2 separate regions of the Homo sapiens genome follow, and region 1 is linked to region 2. The links are contacts of gene promoters, found by promoter capture Hi-C in human tissues and cell types (Jung and others, 2019). All regions are on one chromosome and are shown on one strand. Each heading gives the region's core, a stretch centred on a gene start or on the middle of the fragment in contact. The rest is flanking DNA. Distances are from core to core; before and after follow the strand shown.

Region 1 (3,588 bases), core at 765-3,264, 58 kb before region 2:
AGAGGCCTGGGGTAGGAGCTGTGCTGCCTGTTGCCTGAGGACTTCAGCTGAATCTGGGCTGGAGCTGTGAGGTCCATAGAGGCAGCCTTGTCTGTCCTGGCCACCTCCTTGCCAGTGCCTCAGTGGACTCTCAACCACCAAGCTGGTCCAACAGGTGAAGTGCAGGTGGAATACCTGGGGCTCAGATATGGGCTCCTCCTCTGGCTTCTGCTCCCATTCCCCAGGGTTTGGGTGGGGACACTGGAGTTCATTCCTGGCACATAGGACAAGAGGATCTCAATCTTGCAGAACCAGATGACTCAACAAATGCTGTATTATTAGCTTTTAAATAGAATATTTGGGTAAATGAAGGATAGTTGTTCATTGTGAGAAAGAAAATAAAAAATATTGGAGAAAATTGCAATAATAAAACAAATGCATTTGTTTCTCTTTCTCTGCATATTATTTATCTATTGCTGCATAACAAGTTAGACCAAAACTGAGCAACTTAAAACAACAAACATCGATTATCTCACAGAGTCTCTGCTTCTAGGTTCACTAATGTGGCTGTGGGCAGGAGACTTCATTTTTTACCACGTAAGTCTCTTTATAGGCCTGCTCATAGCATGGCAGCTAGCTTCCCCCAGAGCGAGTGAGCCAAGATAGATTGGGGGCGGTGGGTGGCAGAGAGAGAGGGCTCAAGTAGAAGCTGCAGTGTCTTTTATAACCTAATCTTGGAAGTGGCATGCCATCACTTCTGCCATATTCTATTGGTCACAAAGACAACTTTGGTACATTGTGGGAGGGGACACACACAGAATGTAAACACGAGGAGACAGGGATCATTTTAGCAGCTGTATTAGTTTCCTAGAGCTGCTGTAACCAATTATCCTTGGTGGCTTAAAACAGCCGAAATTTATTCTTTCTTCGTTCAGGAGGCTGGAAGTCTGAGATTAAGGTTTCAGCAGAGCCGTTATCCCTCTAAAGCCTCTAGGGAAGAATTCTTCTTTGCCTCTTCCAAGCTTCTGATGGTTGCCACAATCCTTGGTGTTTCTTAGCTTGTGGCTGCAAAACTCCGATCTCTGCCTTCATCTTTACATAGTCTTCCCCGCATCTCCTCTGTCTCTGTGTCCTCTCCTTTTCATACAAGGAAACCAGTCATATTGAATTTAGGTCTACCTTCATCCAGCATGACCTTGTCTTAACTAACTACATCTGCAGAGACCTTATCTCCAAATAAACTCACAGACTGAGATTCCAAGAAGGATGTGAATTTGAGGGGGACACAATTCAACCAGTACAGCAGCCTTCTTAGAGACTGGATCCAATGCCTTGGAATCCCAGGGGCTGTGATCCTTCTAGGAAAGAATTACCAGATGATTTTTGTTCTTTAAGTTCCTTACCCAGAGATTCCAGCCACACAAACTCAGCACAGCCTCCTCCTCAGTGGCTTTGCTGAGATCTGTTTCCTGATCACTACTACAACCAACCAGAGCAGCAGAGCTCGATTCAATTTGAATTTACTCTGGGGAAGTGGAGGCTGAGGACAATCAGAGATGATGTCTACTCTGCTTACCTCAAGATTAATTTCTTTTCTTATTTTTATACAAGGAATTCATCTTCATTGTAGAAAAATTAGGAAATACAGGTAAATTAACAGAATTAAAAGAAAAATCACCTATACTGCCACCACCCTGACATTGCTACAATTGAAGTAAACTCTTCCAGACTTTTTTCTATAAAGAAATATATAAATAGGTATCTTTTAATTAAAATAAATTGCAATATATGCCACTTTGTAAGTAGGTCTTCTCAATATGTCATGAGCACTTTTTCATGGGAATAGAGACCAGCATCTGGGATTTTGATTGTATCTTGGGTTTTTAAAAGAGGATCAGCATACCCTACTTATCTTTTATCTTCTGAGCTCGAGCCATTTCTTCTGACATCAGCACCTCCTCATGCCCACAACAAGATGATGAGGGAAGAGATAGGAAAGGTAGCATATGACAGTGGCAGGATTAAAGGGAAGGAGGTGGGGCTGGGCCAAGGGCCATAGATCCCTGACTCTATGACCACCTCCCTCTCCTGCATAGTGGTGAGTGACAGGTCTTCATGTGGAGAGCTACTGACCCTATAAGGCTCAACTGGGGATGGGTTGGCCTGCGGGGCTCAGGGTAACACTGGTCAGTTACCATTAAGCAGGAATGATTCCCACCACTCCCCCACCCCACCTCCACAGAAATCTTTTCATGTTATTCCCAGTTTACCCCACATGGTTTTTACAAGATTCCACAGCAGTAGCACCATCCAGTGGGGGAGGACCGTGGACTGAGCTCCAAATCTCAGAATTTATCCAAACTGGGAACCAGAAGACAAAGTGGTCAGGTGCCCACTAAGTCAGACGTGGGGGTCCTGAGAGCAGAGAGAGTGATTGTCCGCCATGGGTCTCCTCCACTCACCCCTCACCCGAGCTGGCTCTGCCCAGGGAGTTCTGGGGGGCACGTTGCCCTAGTCACACTGCTGGAAGTAGAAGTCTGTGATGGGGGCATTCCAGCCACCATTCTCGGGAAGCTGGGTGAGTCTGACAGGCTGATCGGCTTCAGGCACCGTGCACAGGAACCAGCCCGGGTAGGCAGCCGACTCGAAGCTGGAGGTGAGCCCCATGTCCCGCCGGTAGAAGGTGAAGCTCTTGGATTCCTTGGCACCAAGATAGAGCTCCATGATGTTCACTGGCTGCCGGCAGAGGAGGGGAGGTCAGGTGAGGGCAGAAGCAGGGGCAGAGGGAGGGCTGGGCAGGATCCTTAGGGAGGAGGCAAAGCTGCCATCAACAGAATCCTGCTAGGGTGTCCCACAGCACCAGGGCTGTGGGCTGCCCGGCTTCAGTAGGCTCAGCATCTGTGGCTGAGTCCCCAGTGAGGATGCCCCAAGTCTCACCTCTAGTGTTAGAGTCGGCTCCTGCCCCACCCCACATGACAGGCACTGGCTTCCACCCTGGACACCCAGGATGACGGGGGACAGGCTGGCATCCAGCCACCGATTGGGGACCACGCTGATCTCTTCACCTGTGGGAAAGAGGCCAGATGCAGGGCCCTGGATGCCTTTCCCTCCTTCTTCCCCTGTCCTGGGCTCTAGGGCACAGGACTGCTGTAAGACGGCCTGCCCCCAGGCTGGGCAGAAGGGAGGCTTCTCAGCAGCTGTCATGACATGGCTTCTCCTGTCCACTGGCTCAGAGTGGACATCAAGGCATGGAAGCACATTGTACCACCTCCACTCCACCCTCTAGTTCAGGGTCAAATCTTCAAGCCTCTACACCCCAAAATAGATTCAACCCCCTCCTTTAATGTCCCTTGGGTCTCAGGCCTTTTTCTGAACCCTGTCTTGATAAGCCCCCCTTTGGAATTGTTTGGACAACTTTCTACACCCTGTGATGTTGCTGAGAGCAAAAGAGGGTCTCATTCCTCTCTGTACATCCCCTCACCACCCACATACATCAGATACATACATACACAGATACATGCATGCACACATATACATATACACACACATGCTCATACCTACATACCTGCACTCACACATACATGGTTACACACAGATACATGCATGCAC
Region 2 (3,887 bases), core at 441-2,940:
TTTAATAATGGAAAATTGCGATTATTGAAGTGTTTATTACAGAGAATTATGTTTGTTCATTTAAAGTTGCAATGTATTTTTTGCCAAAAAGATGTTTTAATAAGTTCGTCTACTTTGTGATAATTAACTGCTAAAATGTCCTTGCTGATTTTACTCTGTGTGTGTGTTCTATTGAAGTTAGACATCATCCTTGCCAAATTATTAATATTTTTGTAAATTAAAATAATAAGTCATTTTAGTAGGTTTGTTTCAAAATGTCCCTGCAATTTTTCTTAGTCTTTCATAACATATACCAACCCCAAGGAAACCAAAAATAAAAATGCATGAGCATAATAAGTACATTGTCTTTTAAAAGATCCTGAAATCTGAGTTTCCATCAAATAAATGGCAGGACCTGTCTTCCACACTCACCTTCAGCTGCAGTGTGGGCTGGTCCCCGACTTTAGCACACATCAGGCAGAGATTGAGTCCATTCAGGCCCAGGTAGATGGGGTTCCCTCTGTCTTTCTCAAGGGTCTCCACATGTCGGCATGAGATTAAGGCAATAGTGACTGGGAACACGATGTGAAAAGTGGTGTTCAGCTGCCATTTCCAGGGTGGTACCTCTGAGCCAGAGTTTTAAGGGAATCTGCTAACTGACACTCACAGTGCACTCATAGAATGGTCACCTCACCACCCACCACCTAACCGGGACACCCATCCTATGTTTGGGGAACACTTTCCATTAGAAAAGTCAGTCTTTCATGGATTCAAAAACTGGTCCTCCCATAGATTACCCTCTTTTGTCCTACTCTTACTCCTTGAAGTTTCTCAGAATACGTCTTCCACTGTTTTTCATAGGCTGACCCTTCAGTCTCCCTTAAGCCTTCTCTCTCTTCTCTGACTTCATGACCATAGTCCCAGAACAACCTTATGCTCACCCTCTATTCATTATTGTCTGTGAGATGCTCCTCTCTGTAGATATGCCCGGTTAACAAGCCCACTGTGGAATAACATCTGAGCACCAAACACACAACAGCACTGGCCAAAGGAGCTGCCTTTCACAGACCGTGGCTACTCACCTGGAGACATACGGTCCTTCCTCGGGACTGCTATGAGCGTCTGGTCCTGAAGAACCCACACCCGATGATTGATATCCTGAATGCTCCCCTGCTGAGGTGTGTCAATTTTCAATGCTGTTGAGAAAGTCAAAATGTAAATTAGTAAGAATGAGAGCACAGAATATCACCCCCTTGTCAATTTTTCGCCCTTCCACGAGGATCTTTACCTTTTTCCATTGTGGTGGTGTTGTTTCAGAACTGCCAAGGATAGGAGTCCTTTTATGTGCAGACCGACCCCAAGAGAGGACCTGAGTCAGTCCCAAGCCACAGTTTAACCCTGGGTCAGATGAAAGACTGGCGGCCAGCCCAGCAGTGACCCCAGTCAGAATCTATACTCCCAGAACTCACCCAGCACCCTTACTTTGTTGGATGCAGTCTACCTCCAGCAGAAGCAGCTGCACCTATGAATCCTGCCCAGGCCTAGACCCAGGAACTCTAATATGACAAAGAGTGCCAAGGCCAAAGACCTGGAAGCAAAAAAAATCAGAGGTCACCAGACTTTCCAGCATAGGCCACACTGATAATCTGTTACGAAGGACCCTGTATCCCTACCATTATGAACAATGGCTTCTACTGCACTTGGGTTTTCTGACAGGCTGTAACAGGGCCCAGGCCTTTTATCCACATGGGCAAGGAAGGAAGTTCTGCCTCACTAAGTCTGGCACTGCCCAACACTCAGGATATTTTCTAGTTCCTGATGCCAGAGGATTTAGTGACTCTTTATGTGAACAGCATGGTTAAGACTTCTCCAAGCAACCTGAAACATGAGGGCATGCTAAACTTTTAAGAGCAGGAAATATAGTCACAGATACTGAGTTGAGAAACATTACGGGACTTCTTCCGGGTCAATGACTCATCTCTGATGCCACAAAATGAAACGATGGAATTATTCCTAAGAGTGGGAGCCCTCAGTAAGTGCAAGGTAGACTGAGGAGGGATAGGTCTCTTAAGACCTCTGTAGCTTCTAATCACTCCTGGTCCACAGGAACTATATTCTTGGTCAATTTCAGACCAGAAGCCCACTCACTCCAGTGACCCTCCTCCAGCTTCTCAGAGCCACTGTGCATGCTGCTTCTCCATGGAAGAAGGGAGTATTACTGTAGCAAAGCCAGCTCCTGAGCACTCTAGCCACCTCAATGGACTCTAGATCACTATCTCTAGTATAGGTAGCGTGATAGTAAATTTTAAGTGTCAATTTGACTGGTTTAAGGAATACTTAAAGAACTGGTAATACATTAGTTTGGGGTAAGTCTATGAGGGTGTTTCCAAAGAAGATTGGTGTGTAAGTCAGTGTACTAGTGGGGAACATCTACCCTCAACGTAGGTGGGATCCATCCAACTGGCCGGGGGCATGGATGGCATGGAAAAGACAGAGAAAAGGTGATTTTCTGTCTCTCCTGGAGCTGGGGCATTCTCTCCTGCCTTTGGACATTATAACTCCAGACTTTGGACTCCAGGACTTAATATCAGCATCTCCCTGGGTTCTCAGGCTTTCTATCCCAAAGTGAGAATTACACCAGTGGCTTCCTAGTTCTGAGGCTTTAGGACTTGAACTGAGCATGTTACCTGCATCCCAGGGTCTCCAGCTTGCAGGTGGTCTGTCATGGGATTTCTCAGCCTCCAAAATTGCATGAGTTCATTCCCCTAATAAATCCCCTTTCATACAAGAGGTCATCAAAAAGTTCATGGAAAATGCATATTATGAAAAAAACTATGCATGGATTTTGAATTATTTTGCACCAAAATAAACTCCTACTAACTTGTTATAAGGTGTTTGAACAGGATCTAGTTTGAGGCACTAAGAAAGGTAAGACATCAGTTTGAAAAGAGCCCCTATAAGATCAACATGAATTCTTCTAAAATTGAAGCAAGAACAAAAATCAAATTTATGGTGAAACTTGGGTGGAAGAATGGTGAAATCATTGATGGCTTATAAAAAGTTTGTGGGGACAATGACCCAAAGAAATCAGCAGTTTACAATGGATAACTCATTTTAAGAAGTGAGACAATATTGAAAATAGCACCTGCAGCAGCAGACCATCCACATCACTTTGCAAGGAAAAAACTAATCTTTTTGTGCCCTAGTTGAAGAGGACTGAATATTAACAGCAGAAATGATAGCCAATATCATAGACATCTTAATTGGTTCAGCTTACACAATTATGACTAAAAAACTTAAAGTTGAAGCACAATGGCTCATGTCTGTAATCCCAGAACTTTGGGAGGCCGAGGCAGGCAGATCACCTGAGGTCAGGAGTTCAAGACCAGCCTGGCCAACACAGCAAAACCCTGTCTCTACACAAGTTTGTCAGTTGACCCTGCAGAACCCACTTATACAAAAAGTCAGCCCTCTTCATCCACAGGCTCAGCATCCCTCAATGCTGGTTGGTTGAACCTGCAGATACAAAGTGCCGATTCTGTATGTGTGTCTGTGTTTGTGTGCATAAACACACATCCTAATGATTCTATCTCTCTGGAGGCTCCTGACTAATACAGCAGGAAAGGAAGCCTGGCTGCCAGAGGCCCCAGTGCTCTGAGCTCGCAGTACCTGACATTAGGTCTACACTAAAAGGAAGCTGAGGTAATACTGTTGATGCTCTGCTCCATACCTTCAACAACCTGAGTTCACAACTGCTGTTGGAGATCCTAGCATCTGTCAGCTTCACACCTCTAGGGCTTCCATCTCAGGGGCAACTTCAGTAAGTGGTGAAAGAAACTGGTAGACAAATGTTCAGCCACCCCATCCTCTGATACGATAACACTAAGGTTTCTCAGAGTTGCCCCATA

The links. The method cuts DNA at HindIII sites, captures the fragments that hold promoters and counts their contacts. A contact is called where the count stands out against the background at its distance.
Region 1: a contact is called between a fragment that was not itself captured here and the fragment with the promoter of IL36A in region 2, in 1 of the 25 tissues and cell types used here (aorta).

Annotation. Positions count from the first base shown.
Region 1 is chr2:113,061,580-113,065,167 of GRCh38, reverse strand. It overlaps IL36RN (interleukin 36 receptor antagonist), which reads right to left. Exons shown (of 5, transcript NM_012275.3): 4 at 2,917-3,044; 5 at 424-2,715. The coding sequence ends at 2,491. Among named protein-coding and RNA genes, the nearest start is that of IL36RN, 4.2 kb to the right of the region's middle. The HindIII fragment of the contact is 6,121 bases long and covers 1-3,588 here.
Region 2 is chr2:113,003,262-113,007,148 of GRCh38, reverse strand. It overlaps IL36A (interleukin 36 alpha), which reads right to left and starts at 1,690. Exons shown (of 4, transcript NM_014440.3): 1 at 1,268-1,690; 2 at 1,062-1,175; 3 at 412-551. The coding sequence starts at 1,277. The HindIII fragment of the contact is 9,440 bases long and covers 1-3,887 here.